Regions from separate parts of the Homo sapiens genome. Here regions 2, 3, 4 and 5 are each linked to region 1. The links are contacts of gene promoters, found by promoter capture Hi-C in blood cells and fetal thymus (Javierre and others, 2016). All regions are on one chromosome and are shown on one strand. Each heading gives the region's core, a stretch centred on a gene start or on the middle of the fragment in contact. The rest is flanking DNA. Distances are from core to core; before and after follow the strand shown.

Region 1 (3,341 bases), core at 308-2,807:
CCCAGCCTCCCATTGAGACTTGACCCAGAGCATTGGTGGCTTTTAATCCAAGGGCGAGATTCTCAGGCTGACCCCTGGGCCCTCCCCAGTCCCCACCACCTCCCGCTGGAATAACGCAGCCCAAAGCCTCCCCTATGGAGGCAGGAACTTAGGTGAGCAGCTCCACAGGGCACATCCTGCCCTCGACCCTGAAGACCCCGCCCTGAAGAGCCGGATGAGGGTGGTGAGGAGGGCGGGTCGGAGCCGAGGGGGCCCTCTCCGCTGGAGGAGCGCTGGATCCCCGCCGATCCTTCCCCTATCCCGCCCGTAAGTCCTCACCGTCGAGTGGGCCCCGCGCTCCTAGGGCCGTGCGCCCCGCGCGCTGCGGATGCCAGCCACAGCCCCCTTCGGAGGGGCCCAGGAGGCCGGAGGCCGGCGGCTCACTTCCCGCAGAGAGAACGCGAGGGCCCAGCCCCGCGGGCGCGCAGAAGAGGACAAGCTGGGGTCTGCAGCAGCCTGGAAGGTCGCCGAGCTGGCGCTGCCGGGCGGTTCTGGCAGCAGGGGAGAAGGCCCCACCCCGAGCCTCAAGCCCTCCGCTCAGTGTGTCCGCAGCCCCGGAGTCCCTCGGTCCCTCGGCGGCCTGTGCCGGGCTCCGGACCCGGCTCTGCCTGTGTCGGTGGCTGTGCCTCCGTGCCCCGCTTGCCGGGGTCCGCAGTCTATCTCCCGCTCTCGCCCGAGGCGGGCTGTGAGGCCGCGGCCCGGGCCCTGGCCTGCAGCGCCATCTCGTGGACCTGTGAGGAGTTGCCGAGGCCCGAGGCCTGGGCGGGCTCTGGGTTCGCTCCCACTCGTGCTCCCGGCGGGGAGCTGCGGGAGCTGCCAAGAGGACTCGCTGGGAAACCAGGCGCGGCCGTCAGCGCTGGAAATCGGTGCTTCCGGAGTGGGTTTGGGGTCCCCGGCCCCATCCAATAGGAGGAACAGATATGCGCCTCCGGAGAGCCCAAAAGGAAGTCCAAGTGCAAAACCGCCCCGGGCGTGCTCGGACACGTTCAGCGCCCGGCAACCAGCCTCCACCCCGAAGGCGCTCCCGGGAGGGTGCCCAGGAGACCCGGAGCTCGGGCTTCCTCCCAAGAGGGCGGGGGCTCCCTCCGCTGCCGCCCTGTCCTGCGAGCAGGGAGCGCTCGGCCTCCTGCGGGATCCCGCCTGACCGCCGGTGCTCCGCACCTCGGGGCCAAGGACAGCGAAGGAGGGGGAGGAAGCGGGACTGGATTTTGGGTCCTTCCCAGAGCGGAGGAAGGCAGGCTCGGGGTATAAATCCAGGGCTCGTAGAGGCTGTCCCTCAAGGGGCCGTCCCATAACCGGGAAATAGGGGGTCCCGGCCTCAAGCCGGGGCGCTTGAGCGTGAGAGTCCCGGGGAGAGCGAGGCTGAGCGCGCCCCTCCCGCCCCAGGAGCACCCCACGCAGGAGTTCGCGGTCAGCTGGGGAGGCGGGCCCGGGAGCTGCGGCCTTCGGGAGGGCAGGGCCAGGCCATACCGGTGGCTCCGGTTCTCCACAGCAGCGGCGGGGGAGTGGAGGAGGAAGGGCTTGAGGGCTCGGAAGATTCCGATTAACCCGAGAGGAAATGAGGTCCCCTGGGCCTTGGGATCCGGGCGGCTTAGCCGCTAGGGGTCTCTCGGAGCCCCTGCACTCACACCCTCCATCTCCGAGTTCCTCCGGGAATCGCACGCGCCACCCCACACCGACACGCACAATTCCCTCTTAGACCTCACACGCCCCACACGCGAGAGCCCGAGGCGACAGGCTAGGCCGCCAGCAGGTATCGCCATCGTCCCAGCACTGGCCCTCCTGCCACGCGTGTGCCGGCGGCTCTGCCGTCCAAGGACCCCGGGCCAGGCCCTGAAGGGTTAAGGAGGCCTTGCGGCACCGGAGCGGCGGGTACGCCGGGCGCCTAGGCTAATTGGCGACCCCGGGGACAATGAGGGCTGGGAGGCCGGGGAGGAGGGTGGCTTAATTGGACATGGGAGTGGCCTAGCCTTTGTCTGGGACAAGGCCCAGCCGCCGGCCGCGGGTTCCCGCAGTCGCACTCAGGCTACCAGCTGGGGCCCCGCGGAGCGCCGGGTGGGCGACTCGGAGGGGACATGTGCGGCGGGAGGTGGCGGCGAAAGTGGTGTGGGGGATCTCGAGGCCCTGGAGTCCCACCCCACCCCACCCGGGTTGCTGCAGCAACGACGCGGCCTAAAAACGGCCGCGACTAGGCCGCCCCGCCCGGCCTTCGCAGGCACCCGCCTCCCCCGCGCCCATGCCCGCACCCGCACCCCTCCCGCGACCCTAAGTCGGTGCTGCCCCCTGGTGTCCGCAGCCCTGTACGTAGGCCGCCGCGGGCGCGCAGCCGACTCTCGTCTCCCTCCTAATGTCCTGCTGAAAGTGAGAAGCCGCGGGACGCAAACGCGCCGCTCCTCTAGGAGTATGAGAGGCGTTTCAGCCCAAAGCGACCTCCAGCAAACGCGCTGCCCACGAGCTTCTATTTAGGCTGGAAAACGGGCTTCTCTGTCCCTGTCGGGTTCCCGGACCTGCCCGCAGGTCTGAGGCAGGGAAGCCAGAACCCACCCTCTGGGGTTGGGATACGTTCTACTGCAACCTCCCACTCGTGCACTGGCTGAGTCCCCTCCCTGCTCCAGCCGCATTCGGCGTGGCCTGGGGGCAGCACCATCCTGAAGAGGCGGGCCTGGTTCTCTCTCTCTCGCTCCTTGCAAATGTATCGGCCCACAAAGGCGTCCTGGGAGTCTGGGGGCCCAACTGTCCATTCCACCTTCACCATCACCGTTCCTCCATCTCAACGTCCCTGGTGTTTTGGAAGCCAGCACCCTCCCCAAGCCCCACCCTGTGCAGTGCCCAAGGTGGGCAGCCTGTTGGGGCAGGGCGTTCAGGGTCCCCAAGGCTTAAAGAGGAGAGAACTGGGAAGGAGGTGGCGTGCTCGGTGACCGACCAGACCCAGGGCTAAAGGAGTGCCCGCCCAGCTCCCACTGCTAGAAGTGGGGGCTGGAGACACCTGCTAGCTGGGCAAGGAGGGGGAGCTCACCGGCGCGGGGTGGGAGGCAGCTGTCCTTGCAGGAGTGGGTCTCGGGGAAGGACCAGCCTAATGGAGACTGACACAGCTGGACCCCGGAGAGACCCCAGCCAAGCCCATTATTATACAGGGGAAACTGAGGCAGGAATGGAAATAGCCCACTGACCCCACTCTCCACTCTCCCAAGAGGGATTTAGATAGATGAGTTAAAGTAAGACCTTTTAGTCCAGATTTTGCCACTCTAGCCAACAGCCCTGACGCGGAGGAAATGTTTGTCTTTGAGGTTCAGGAGGCAGAG
Region 2 (3,341 bases), core at 424-2,923, 450 kb after region 1:
GCCTGCCTTTGTTTCTACTCTTCTATTTGTGATCTAAGATAAGTTGTAGTCTCTTTAAAATAACTTGTTATATCTATTATAAGATGTCTCTATAAGCCTCCTGGTAACCACAACACAAAAACTTGTAACACAAAATCCTGTAACAGACTCACTAAAAAGAAATGCAACAAATTAACAGCATAATACCAGAGAAAATAACTTACCCACAAAGGAAGGCACTAAGAAAGAAACAACCAGAAAACTAGCAAAAGAATGGCAGTAGTATCTTCTTACTTATCAATAATAAGGCTGAATGTAAATGGTCTCGATTATCCAACTAAAAGGCACGGAGTGGCTGAATGGATAAAGAAACAAGACCAAGTTACATGCTGCCTTCAAGAAATCCACTTCACCTATAAAGACACACATAGACTGAAAGTGAAGGGGTGAGAAAAGATACTCCACGTATCTGGAAACCAAAACAGAGCAGGAATAGCTATACTTACATGAAAAAATAGACAACCAATCTAAGATTATAAAGAGAGACAGAGAAGGACACTATACAATGATAAAGGGGTCAATTAAGTAAACATATGTAACAATTATAAATATTCAACCAACACTGGACATCTCAAGTCTATAAAGAAAATATTAATAGATCTAAAACAGAGATAGACTGCAATACAATAAAAGAAGGAGACCCCACTCCAGTAATGGACAAATCATTCAGACATAAAATCAACAATGAAACAGCAGAGTTAAACTACACACCAGATCCAACAAGCCTAACTACGTTTAGAGAACATTTTATCCAACTGCTGCAGCATACATTTTCTTTACTAGCACATGGGACATTCTCCAGAAGAGACCATATCTTAGGTCATAAAACAAATCTGAACAAAACTTTTAAAATAAAAATCATATCAAATATCTTTTCTGGCCACAATGGACTAAAACTAGAACTTAATAAGAAGAACTGGGGAAAATATATAAACACATAGAAATTAAAAAACATGCTCCTGAGTGACCAATAGGTCAATGAAGAAATTAATTAAGAAAGAAATTTTAAAATGTCTTGAAACAAGTGAAAATGGAAAAATGGAAATGCAATATATAGGCCGGGCGTGGTGGCTCATGCCTGTAATCCCAGCACTTTGGTAAGCCGAGGGGGCAGATCACTTGAGGTCAGAAGTTCAAGACCAGCCTGGCCAACATGGTGAAACTCCATCTCTACTAAAAATACAAAAATTAGCCAGGTGTGGTGGCGGGCGCCTATAATCCCAGTTACTCTGGAGGCTGAGGCAGGAGAATCACTTGAACTCAGGAGGCAGAGGTTGCAGTGAGCCAAGATTGCGCCACTGCACTCCAGCCTGGAGTGAGACTCCATCTCAAAAAAAAAAAAAAAAAAAATTCAATATACCAAAACCTATGGGATATAGCAAAAGCAGTACTAACAGGCAAGTTTGTAGCAATAAATGCCTATATCAGAAAAATGAAAGGCTTCAAATGAACAACCTAATGATATACCTCAAGGAACTAGAAGCAAGAACAAACCAAAGTCAAAAATAGTAAAGACAGAAATAATAAAGATCAGAGCAGGAACTAATGAAATCGAAGCTAAAAAGAAATACAGATCAATAGAACAAAACATTGGTTTTCAAAAATGTAAACAAAATCAACAAGTCTTGAGCTAGACTAAGAAAAAAGAGAGAAGACCTAAATAAATAAAATCAGAAACAAAGAAAGGACACATAACAACTGAGACCTCAGAAACACAAAAAATCATTAGAGACTACTATGAACAATTATATACCAACAAACTGGAAAACCTAGAAGAAATGGATAAATTTCTGGAAACATACAACCTCCAAGATTGAATCATGAAGAAACAGAAAACCTCAACAAACCAATAACAAGTAACAAAACTGAAGCTGTAATAAAAAGCCTCCATAAAAAGCAAGAAAATCCCAGGACTTCACAACTTCACTGCTGAATTCTACCAAACATTTAAAGAAGAATTAATACCAATTGTACTCAAACTCTTCAAAAAAATTGAAGAGGAGGACATACTTCCAAACTCATTCTATAAGGCCAGCATTACCTTGACAGTAAAATCAGATAAGGACACGACAACAAGAAAAGAAAACTACAGGCCAATATCCGTGATGAACATATATGTGAAAATCCTCAACAAAATACTAGCAAACAGAATTCAACAACACACTAAAAAGATCATTTATAATATCAAATGGGATTCATTCCAGGGATGCAAGGATGGTTCAACATAAGCAACTCAATAAACATGATATATCATATTAACAGAATCAAAAACAAAAACCACATATTTCAATAGATACTGAAAAAGTATTTTATAAAATTCAACATCCTTTATGATATAAAAAAACCCCTAATCAAAATGGGTATAGAAACAACATACTTCAAAATAATAAAGACCATATATGACAAATCCACAGCTACCATCATACGGAACAGGGAAAAAATGAAGGCCTTTCCTCTAAAGACTGGAACAAGACGAGTATGTCCACTCTCACTACGGTTACTCAACATAATACTGCCAGTCCTGGCCAGAGCAATTAGGCAAGAGAAAGAAATAAAGAGCAACCAAATTGGAAAGGAAGAATTCAAATCAGCCTTGTTTGCAGACAACATGATCTTATATCCAGAAAAGGCTACAGAACTCACCAAAAAATTGTTACAGCTGATCAGCAAATTCAGTAAAGTTGCAAGTTATAAAATGAACATACAAAAACCAGTAGCATTTGGCCGGGTGTGGTGGCTCACGCCTGTAATCCCAGCACTTTGGGAGGCCGAGGCGGGTGGATCATGAGGTCAGGAGATCGAGACCATCCTGGCTAACACAGTGAAAGCCTGTCTCTACTAAAAATACAAAAAATTAGCTGGGCATGGTGGCAGGCGCCTGTGGTCCCAGCTACTCGGGAGGCTGAGGCAGGAGAATGGCATGAACCTGGGAGGCGGAGCTTGCAGTGAGCTGAGATTGCGCCACTGCACTCCAGCCTGGGCGACAGAGCAAAACTCCATCTCAAAAAAAAAAAAAAAAAATCGATAGCATTTATATACATCAACAGGGAACAATCTGAAAAAGAAATCAAGAAAGCAATCCCATTTGTAATAGCTACAAAAATATAAAATTCCTAGGTCTCAATCTAACTAAAGAAGTGAAAGATCTATAAAAAGAAAACTATGAAATATGAAAGAAATTGAAGAAGACACAAAAAAATGGAAAGATATTCCATGCTTATGGATCAAAGAATACTGTTAAAACGACAATACTATCCAAAGTAGTTTACAGATTCAATGCAATCCCTATCAAAATTCCAACA
Region 3 (3,341 bases), core at 571-3,070, 400 kb after region 1:
CTTTGTCCTAAATTATGTTTTCCCAGACATTCTATACTATAAAAACACAGAAGAAAAATGGATTAAGTTGAGGATAAAAGTGAACAGAGAAAATAACAATGGGCTTTGTTGCCACGCTGGAGGAATAGCTTGTCAGGTCAGCTTTGCAGAGAGGCATATTCCCAAACCAGTCATCATTAACAGACTCACTTCCACAGGAAAAAAAAAAAAAAAAAAAAGACAGAGTCTGAAAACTCCGGACAAAAGAAATCCCTGCAGACAAAGTAAAAACAAATTAAAAGACCCATTATAAAACACAGATGCTACAAGGAAAATAAACTTTCTAAGATTTACTGGGCTTTGACAAACTTGGACATTTGTGGAAAAGACATCAGCAGCAACTCCCAGGTAATGTGGCTGCAAAGTTAGACTCCCTTCTGTTTTATCTTTACCCTCTGTGCAGAAGCTGCCAGGTTGGTATTCTTAGCTTCTGAATGCAGTGATGTGAGAACATGTGAATGTGGCAAACTGCCAACTGCAAGAACTCTCTGAAGCTAGCAAAACTGAAATTGTTGAACATTTCAGATTATGTTAAATATTAAAGTTACTATCAGTGTATCTGTGTGTACATATGTATAGTTGTCTTTCTTCCGAGATACAAACAAGAAGAGGGAAAATAAAAAATGAATGTATTTGCATCCTTTCTACCTTTAAAAAATTTCCATATCTTACCATATTGTGAACCAAAGGACATAAAATCAGTTAAAATAACATTAAGGAATCAAATGACAATAGTTGTAGATCAGAAAGTACCTTAAAGGAGTGTCATACCAGAGAGAGAGAGAAATTTTTGTTACAGGTTTCTAAAAGTTATTGTTAATGGAGGACAAAGAAAGATTCTTTAGGAACAGAAGGTATGAGAAACTAAGACCTACAATGGAATAAAGTGGGTCAAGTGAAACATTTGGAGGATAAAAAGAGCACTGTCCTTCTGTTGTCATTAGACATATGAGGTAAGTATAGTATTAGAGTATTAGAGATAAGTATAGAAACGGCAAAGCTTCATTTGCAAAAAGAGCTAAAGGACACTAAGCAATGGTGCCCTGTGAAAGAGCAGTGTTATTAGGAGGTCCACATATCATCCCACTTATTCTTACCACAGACACAGACCTTATCCACTTTAGGCACTCCACTTTTCTGAAGGTTTACAATAGACACCTTCCTATAACTCAGTACTCTAGACTCCTACGACTGTATTAAATTCTGTTCTCATCACCTCTCCATACACTTATCTACAACACCCACTATTGTTCTAGGATATAAGCTCCTCACCTAGTGTCTTTGGTCTCCTATTTGGAACTCTTGCATTTTGAAATCGGATTACTGAGCCACACTGAAGCCCGAGGTCAATGTGACTCTCTGGCACTCCTCAGAAGACAATTCTACGGAAACAGCCCCAGTCCCAAATATCTCCTTTATTTTTGCCCTCTTTGCAACACTTTACCTATTCTAAGACATCATGTAGATGTTCTATTCCCTATATCATATCTTTCAAAAATAAAAACTAGATGATGAGTTCTACGGGGCCTTTTTTTTTATTTTTTTATTTTTTATTTTTTGGTAAACTTTTGTCTTCTACAGAAGAGCAAAGCTTTTGGACTGTTTTTAATATCTTGCTGTGGAATTGACAGGGATAAAAATCTAAAATATACCAAGGAGTTTAACTAAGTTAATTCTGTAGTTGAAAAGCTCTGACTTCTTGACTCTGTCAAAGAATACAATGGTAGCTTGTTTTGAAATAGTCACTGGAAATGTGGGCTCTGAAAAGTTAAAAACACTGCTTAGTTCTTGCTTGCCATCCAATTTAACATTAAAGTTTTTTCAACCAAACTCTCAATAGTTATTTAACAAAAAATACCCTGTGTAGAAGGGAATTTCCTGCAGGTGGGTTATTTTTGGTTGGGATGGGAGTGTGTGTCTCTCTCTCCATCTCTCTCTTCTCCCCTTTCCTAGATGAGAATGTCAAGCTTCCCAGCTGCAGTTCCAGGACTTTCACCCTCCTTTATGACCTTTTCTCAGGCATGTTCCAGTATAATCTGCAATCTACTCAAGTCGGAAAAGGAAACAGCAGCACCCTGGTGAGAAACAGTGCCTTCTGACCCACATACCAAACTGGGCGGAAGCAATGCTTGTTCACAGGAGCCAAGGAGAGTAGAACACACACTAAAAGAAAATGAATTTTATGTGTGTGTGTGTGTGTGTGTGTCGACACACAGACACACATTTTTAAAGACTATAAACACAACAAACAGTTTGGGTGACAAATAAAGACAGAAAATACTGAAGGACAATCCTGTGTGGGCACTGATTCATTTTGCCTATAACTTTTTTTTGGAGGCAATCGATGGTGAAGTAAAAACACTGCAATTTTTGATGCATTTCAAGCAAAAACACTTGTTGCTTTCTTTGAGTAAAAAGTTCACGTCACCATAGACATTACTGTAGGTACTTTGAGAAAGGGTGAGAAGGTAGGAAGATTAGAGAAATCTCCCACAAAATGGACTTGAAAACAAGAATCCAATCTTTCTTTTTTTTTTTTAAACAGGATGGGGATTGAGATTATTAATGATAGTGTCATCACTTCTCCCCACTACATACAAAGTAGCCTGCATGGAGCTTTGCCTAGGGCTTATTAAATGTCACTAGAATTAAAAGTGTACTTTCAGGAGAATTGAAACTGTATATATTTATGTACGAATACTCCAATAAATAATTTGCTAGGTAGTTTTCCTTTTCTATTGTGAATCCATTATCATCTGTTAATTATTATCTGAATGTGTTGGCTACTACAACATACAAATTTAAGTATTTTTCTTTTCTTAAAGCTAAAATAAACCCAATAAATTTAGAAATTTGATGCCTAAAAATTAAAAGTCATAAAGAAATAATTCCTGTTGCTAAAATTCTAAGTACAGCAAGTATAGTTGACACAACTCCAAAAGGTAACAAGGTGGGCCTAGAACAAGGAATATTGAAAACTTAGGAGGCAAAAATTCCCTAGAAAAGGAGATGAAATCAACAGTTAGAAACAATGTTTATAAAATGCAAGAACACAAAGGGAAAAATAATAGAACTAGCTGTGAGGAATTCTACTGAAATATAAAAAATCTGTCTGAAAAGTTTCATGCAATTAAGTTTCAATCACAGAGTCAACCCAAACTTGTAAGTTAAATGAACAAAATCTCCTCCCTCAAAGTGGTAAGTTCATTACTTATTATTCTTAGAGCACTCCAAGATTTTGGAATGAAGAAAGTTTATTAAGAGTTGGTGCTCTTAAAATTTAAGAAGGTTTAGCAATTTTT
Region 4 (3,341 bases), core at 1-2,500, 400 kb before region 1:
AAGTATGGGATTTGGTCTTAAAGCTTGGGATATTTAATTCCTTGAAATTAATTTCTGTTGTAGTCAGACATCTTAGTTTCTTCTTTTAAATCCTGCTACCAAAAATAGTCAAACTTGGATGATATCATATGAGGAGATAGAAGTGTTTAAATGGTTTAGTCTAATTAGATCTAATTAATATACTTTATATACTTAAAAACTTCAAAAGCAGATAGTTTATTTAGGCTGTCTGGGCAAAGTTTGAATTTTCTTAATTGAATGAGAAATATAATGATTATCCCACCTCATAATTCTGATAAATACAAACCCCTCTTTTAAAAGTTATACTAAATTATTAACTTTCAAAAGATGTCATTGGTGGTTTTGAAATTTTCCAGGGAAATTAGAATAATATGAATTTGGGCTTGGTGGAAATAGAGAATTCTTTCTTACTAAAGACTTATATGACTTTCAAATAATTTCTTTTGGCAGTATTAGTTTGGGAGCCTATGTTCTGGTGTGATAATTAGTTTACTCTAAAATTGAAGTTGCAAGTATGAAATTATACCCCCAAATCAGTGAACCATAAATTGATTACTATGAAGTGACCAATGATATTTTAATATATTTTTAGAGTTGTTTTGTTTTTCACTAGTATCTTATTAGAGTTGGTTCTACACAAAAAACTGTGAGCTATAGCCCCCAGAGTTTCATTTCATTGATATATCACCCCCTACCATATAATGTGAATTATTTTGTTTTATGCTTTTCTTCCTTAATACTCTCTTTTATAGATGAAAATTTATTTAAACTTTATTTAGGGATGGTCAAAAGATACTTTAACAGATATTCAAACGAGATTATAAAGTATAAGTAGTAAGGTGTTCCAATGGCAAAACTTGAGTGACTTGTTCCGAGCCAGGAGAGAATACAGAATTACTGAATCAAAGTCATTGTTGAAATCCTACAGTCATATTTATTTCCAAAGAGTTATTTCTAACTAACTGAGGAATTGTGAAATTCCTTTACTCTGTATATTAAAAAACTTCTCTTCAAGGAGAGATGAAAGTATTAAGTGTCAGGTGTTCAAAAATAATAAAATAAAGCTCTTTATGGTAAAACTCCATGAATTTCATGCATAAGTAGACTGCTTTCCATAGTGACTAAGTGATCTGCTGAATTCCTCAAATGCTTGAAATTTATTTTTTGGCTATATAGCCTATGCAAGAAGACTTGCTGGCATTGTCACCATATTTTTATCTTTTTTTGTTTTACTTGTTATTGGGGAAATTAATTATGTATTTGTAAAAAATACATTGGCTGGGCCTGATGGTTCATGCCTGTAATCCCAGCACTTTGGGAGGCAGAGGCGGGCACTTGAGGTCAGGAGTTCGAGACTGGCCTGGCCAACATGGCAAAACACATCTCTACTAAAAATACAAAAAATTAGCTGGGCGTGGTGGCGCATGCTTGTAATCCCAGCTACTTGGGAGGCTGAGGCATGAGAATCGCTTGAACCCAGGAGGCAGAGGTTGCAGTGAGCCAAGATCGCGCCACTGCACTGCAGCCTGGGCAACAGAGCAAGGCTCTTGTCTCAAAAACAACCAACCAACCAAAAACATACATTGGTAAAATACATTGGTAAAAGCAATGATAAAGTGTAAGATTGTGTATTGAAGGCAGACAGTTTCATTTTGTGTAACCTAGAATCCTACAGTGCTGGTTACGTTTTTATTGATCTTTACTCATAAGTTTGAATCATGTAAAAATAAAAAGGAATTCAGTAGACTTCAATGTTCCGAATTTTTCATTGGCCTTTAGTTTGTCTTAAAGTGAACAGGTATTTTATTTTTTAATATTAGTAATATGAATAATTGAAGATATCTGCTTGTGGTTTGTCTTGACCTAATTCTGCCTCAGAATGCTTACCTCACGGGCATACATGAACATCCTCTTTCTTGTTCTCAAGCCCTGTTAGTAATTTGGTATTGTAATGAAGGGCAATTACAAAGTCACCATAGGTGTCTGTGTTTACTTTGACTGAATTACCAAAGCGAAATGATAAATAGATAACTGACAGTTTGAATGGAAGTGTTTAAAGTGTGATAACACTTCAATTGACAGACTTCCTCAGGGTTGTGTTACACTGCTAAAATGGATGAGCTTTTCTGGTTTTGCTGTCAGCCTGCAGAGGGGTGTCATTCTAACTGCCCTTAAAGTGTAAACTTTCTGATTTTTTGGCTTGATCCAAGGCACATGTGTTTTTGTTCATTGTTTCTTTTACTAAAGTGCCCTTATACTGGAAAAGTATGCACTTATCTGTTAAAAGTTAATTTTTGTTTCAGTTAAGAAAAAATAATTTTAACTAGAGTCAGGAATGACAATTCTGAAATATTATTTTAGATATATATCTTTTTTTGGTTAAAATGAGACTTAATAGCTCATAGTCATAGATTCTAAAGGCACTTTAGTGATCATTTTGTATAAAGGTAAGCTTTCAGAATTGTATGGAAGAAGCTTGGAATGAAGAAATGGTGAATGTCCTATTATTAAACTCAGTCTGTATCAAACTGAGAGTATGAAAGATGATTGACACGTTTTTACCTGAATCACAGAATTTTAGAGCTGGAAGGAATTTTAGAGATGATATAGTCAGTGAGTCAGAAGGAATCTTACAAGCCTTCTGGTTCAAATATTCTTTTGATGCTTAGTCACATGAGAAAAATGGGCCCTGGAGTTTTCTCAGTCAGACAAGTAATTAGCAAGGAGGGACCAGAACCCAAATTTTCTGATTCCTCATCCATTGCTATTTTGGTTACACTAGAAACAAAATCCAAAGATGGCATTGAGGTAGGGAGAAGTTGACACAGTATGAAGAATAAGAACAGTAGAGGTTAGAGAAAGTGAGTGAAAATAATGTAGAAAATGGCCTAAATAAATATAGTTAGATGAGTCCTTTCCTCCTAATTTTTATTTTTAATACTTTGGAGGACTAACAGGTATCATCCTTTAACATGGCTGAATACAAAGCTTTAGGAGAACTGGTCCTCAGCTATTCATGTCTTGTCCTTTGATTTGCTGACATTCTTTTATAGGTTATGAATCTCTTATGGTTTACTTTGTTTCTAGCAATATCTAGATACATTTGTGTATGTATTGATGTATGTATGTTTTGAAAACACGGATTCTCCTTTTGGATAATTCATAGATAAAAATACATGTAAAGATTATATATATGCATATATATGTGTGTGTATATATATACAATTTAATTTATTATACAGACGTATACAAATACAATTTAATTTTACACACACACACACACACACACACACACACACACACACACACACACAGAAAGA
Region 5 (3,341 bases), core at 359-2,858, 380 kb after region 1:
AAAAATAACAGTAGCTTAAATACAACACTACATGCAAATTCAGAGCTTGATACATTCCTATTTATTTGTAATATTGAAAGCAAAATTCAGATTCAAAAATTCACACTGGGATTATTTATCTTAAATTCCTATGTTTAAAAAAGTATGTTATATGTGTAATTCTTTTGTATTATTTTATATAGTCATCCAAACTCAAATATCCTAAACTAACCTAGATGACACATAATACCAGGGAAGTCCAAAGTGACTAAAATGTTGAAGATGCATAGTTTACTTTCCAACAAGCTTATTTTGTTACCAAAGGGAACGACTGTATTTTATAACGACTCATCTGAAAGTATATGAATGTAAAGGACTAAACCTGTTTAATGGAGAATAAAGAACTAGCAGAAATTGTGATATACCAAAAGCAAATTCTTAGCTAAGTGTTAACGTTGCAACTCGAAACTAATAAAAAGTTTGTAGAAAATTTACATTTCATTTAAAAATTTCATTTTTCATCCAAAATACATATATTACCCTATAACTGGATATACTAAAAACATATTTATTTAGCATATAATGTTTTATTTCAGAACAGTACATAAAAACATTCTCAGGTTGAATGCTAAATAACATGGAAAAATAGCAAAAACTATTAAAACAAAGGAGCTCTTATAAACAAAATGGAAGAAGTTGTCAAATTTATATTCATTTGCTGCCTTAATTTGAGGTTTCATTAAGATCTTAATGGAAAAAACATGCACCACTGGGAAAGTAACATTTTAAAGGAGAACCTTTTAGTCTAGTATAAGTGACTAAAAACGAGTTTCTTGTGAGCTAACGATGGCATCAAACAAACCACAAAGCAGTCTTCTAAAAGACAGGCAATGATTTAAAAGTCTACTATATTTAATATATCCCTTTCTTTAATCTGGCTCTTTTAATCTTGTTTCAACCTCAAATCATTTCTGGTTGACAAGTGCTTTTGCTTAAATGTGAGGAGCACGTAAGCTGTTGAAGGAATGAACTTTACTTACTTAACATACAACAGTTGTTATTCCATCTTTTACTTCTATGCAAAACTTCAATCTTTATTAACATACTACAACTCTTTGCTTTGTACTTAGAAGAAGAATTTATCCTAAAATGGAATTTAATTCTAAGTTTACAAAGAAATTTTGTCATATGTTGAATGTGGCATTTAAAATTCACTGATCACTGGAAGGCTCATAAGTAAGATCTGTGTATCTTATTTGTTTTTAGAAGACATCTGGTTAACAAAATGAATAAAGATCAACTTTCATGAGATTTATATTCTTGTATATCCTGAATTTGTTTAGAATAGTTTTGCAAACTGTGTCTAATTATAATTTTCAAGGAGGAAAATTTTATGTTGATTTGTTTTATGTCACCTATTATTAAGCAATAACAAAATTTTCAGATCTTCCTATGGCATATAAACATTGAAATAAGTTTGTGTCAAATAATAATTAACCTTAAAGAACTATTTAAGCTTCTTTCTGTCCAAGAGGAAAAAACGTTGGAATGTTTTTTTCTAGTGTAATAGAACAGTATGAACAATCCCCATTTAGCAGTTATGAGAACTACACATATGTGCAGAACTCTTTTCAGTATTCTGACTAAATTAATAAAATTAATATAGCTTACATTTCTCAAAACTTCGCACTGGTTAACATATCCTTAAAAGTGAAAAACATAATCTAATTTAAATAAGCTTCTTTTGAAACACGGTATTTTTCCCTGAAACAGGAAAAGAAACAGTGGTAGCAGCTAACATTTACTGCACATTTACTATGTGCCAGGCACTGTTATATACTAACACATACTGAGATATGTATCAGCTTATTTAATACTCATAGTGAGTCCATTACATAGGTACATTTAATACATAAGGAAATAAGAAATAGAAAGGTTTTAGAAAACTCCCCCCAAATCATATAGCTAGTAAGTGTGTCAATTGGGATCTAAGACCCAGGCAGTCTGACTCTTAACCATTAAACATTTTATACCATTCTTAACACATTCTACTTCCTATCTTTACATGAAAGTATTAAATATATTCGAATTCTTTTCTATGACCTTCCTGTCTAAGACTGACAAAGCTGTATTCTGTGCACTGACATGAAAGAATTTACCAAATAATTAAGCTATGATGAGTATGTGCTAATAATTCAAAATAATAAATTATTTAGGAGGTTTTATGTAAAATATATATTTTGTCATTATGTAGCTCCTTAAATACCTAAACTATTCAAAAACAGAACTTTTGTCTCTTTAGGACCAAATAAAATGCAACAAAAACTTTATAAGGTGCTTTTGGTATACCTTAAATATATTTATATTTCAAAATAAATCATGTCCTCAAATGCTATGCATGATATGTAGGTAACTTCTAATGCCATAATACTCAAAGCTTTAAACTTGGGTGTTAGCCTTGTCTTGTAATATTTACGAGCATTATGAGAGAATTCTTCTATTTAAAAAAAATTCATCTGTGGTTTTTTTTTTTTTGTTTTTTACTTTTTAAAGAATGAAGTGAAACCAAGAAAACCACTTTTCTAAAGCTTAAATATCAACATTCATGTTCCATCTACAAATTATTCAGTAACTTGGTGCATCTATCTGTGATCAGGCCATGCAACTGGAAACAAAACTACAAAACAAATTACTTTTTGAGAGTACAGCAAATGAATGAGGCATGCGGGACTGAACTGGAACTCACCATGGGGCTTTTATGGAAAAACACCCCGCTCCAAAGAGATAAGGCCTTCATGGAAAAGGGGGAAAAATGCACAAAAAATTAGAGAAAAACTCATTTAACATTAGCAAATACAAGTATATCATACTGTTATAGAGTATGGATAAAAATAACTAAAAAATTAGTAATCATTTACAATTCTGCTGTACATACTGTCTGATATAACCAATAAACAGAATGATGTGTAGTAACAAGGCCCTTAATTTTCAGAGTTAGAGATTCAAAATTTTCTATTTCTCCCCCTTTTCTGGAGCACCCCTGTAGTATTTCTAAGTTAAAATAAAATAAAATTCACTGCTGAAGCCCTTTAAAACAAGGTATAAGTTAAATGGAATAACCAGATGGAGAAGAGTGAGATCAATAGCAACAAATGTGTAGCTATGTGACACAAAATGGTTAAAATTAGCTAACGATGACTGGATAAAAAATTTGATATGAATTGTCTGCTTTTCACTGGTTCCAGTCTCAGAACCACAGAAAGAGGCACATATTTTTCAAGCTGCTTATTTGTCGTAAGTTGAATTGTATATTGTTGGTCAAAGGAAAAAACACTAAGTACAACTAGTATAATTTTTCTCTA

The links. The method cuts DNA at HindIII sites, captures the fragments that hold promoters and counts their contacts. A CHiCAGO score of 5 or more calls a contact.
Region 2: a contact is called between a fragment that was not itself captured here and the fragment with the promoter of LINC02875 in region 1, in 1 of 17 cell types (erythroblasts). The highest score is 6.3, in erythroblasts.
Region 3: a contact is called between a fragment that was not itself captured here and the fragment with the promoter of LINC02875 in region 1, in 2 of 17 cell types (naive B cells and naive CD4 T cells). The highest score is 5.5, in naive B cells.
Region 4: a fragment that was not itself captured here is called in contact with the fragment with the promoter of LINC02875 in region 1 in 1 of 17 cell types (monocytes); the score reaches 5.7 in monocytes.
Region 5: a contact is called between a fragment that was not itself captured here and the fragment with the promoter of LINC02875 in region 1, in 2 of 17 cell types (naive B cells and naive CD8 T cells). The highest score is 5.5, in naive B cells.

The regions. Positions count from the first base shown.
Region 1 is chr17:61,409,967-61,413,307 of GRCh38, reverse strand. It overlaps LINC02875 (long intergenic non-protein coding RNA 2875), which reads right to left and starts at 1,557. Exons shown (of 1, transcript NR_160788.1): 1 at 28-1,557. RefSeq lists silencers at 551-610, 631-690, 2,211-2,380 and an enhancer at 2,260-2,842. The HindIII fragment of the contact is 15,544 bases long and covers 1-3,341 here.
Region 2 is chr17:60,963,275-60,966,615 of GRCh38, reverse strand. The region is part of intron 14 of BCAS3 (BCAS3 microtubule associated cell migration factor); the gene reads right to left. Among named protein-coding and RNA genes, the nearest start is that of BCAS3-AS1, 170 kb to the left of the region's middle. The HindIII fragment of the contact is 4,425 bases long and covers 1-3,341 here.
Region 3 is chr17:61,006,946-61,010,286 of GRCh38, reverse strand. The region is part of intron 15 of BCAS3 (BCAS3 microtubule associated cell migration factor); the gene reads right to left. Among named protein-coding and RNA genes, the nearest start is that of BCAS3-AS1, 130 kb to the left of the region's middle. The HindIII fragment of the contact is 376 bases long and covers 1,633-2,008 here.
Region 4 is chr17:61,804,949-61,808,289 of GRCh38, reverse strand. The region is part of intron 7 of BRIP1 (BRCA1 interacting DNA helicase 1); the gene reads left to right. Among named protein-coding and RNA genes, the nearest start is that of BRIP1, 57 kb to the left of the region's middle. The HindIII fragment of the contact is 2,450 bases long and covers 26-2,475 here.
Region 5 is chr17:61,026,295-61,029,635 of GRCh38, reverse strand. The region is part of intron 16 of BCAS3 (BCAS3 microtubule associated cell migration factor); the gene reads right to left. Among named protein-coding and RNA genes, the nearest start is that of BCAS3-AS1, 110 kb to the left of the region's middle. The HindIII fragment of the contact is 222 bases long and covers 1,498-1,719 here.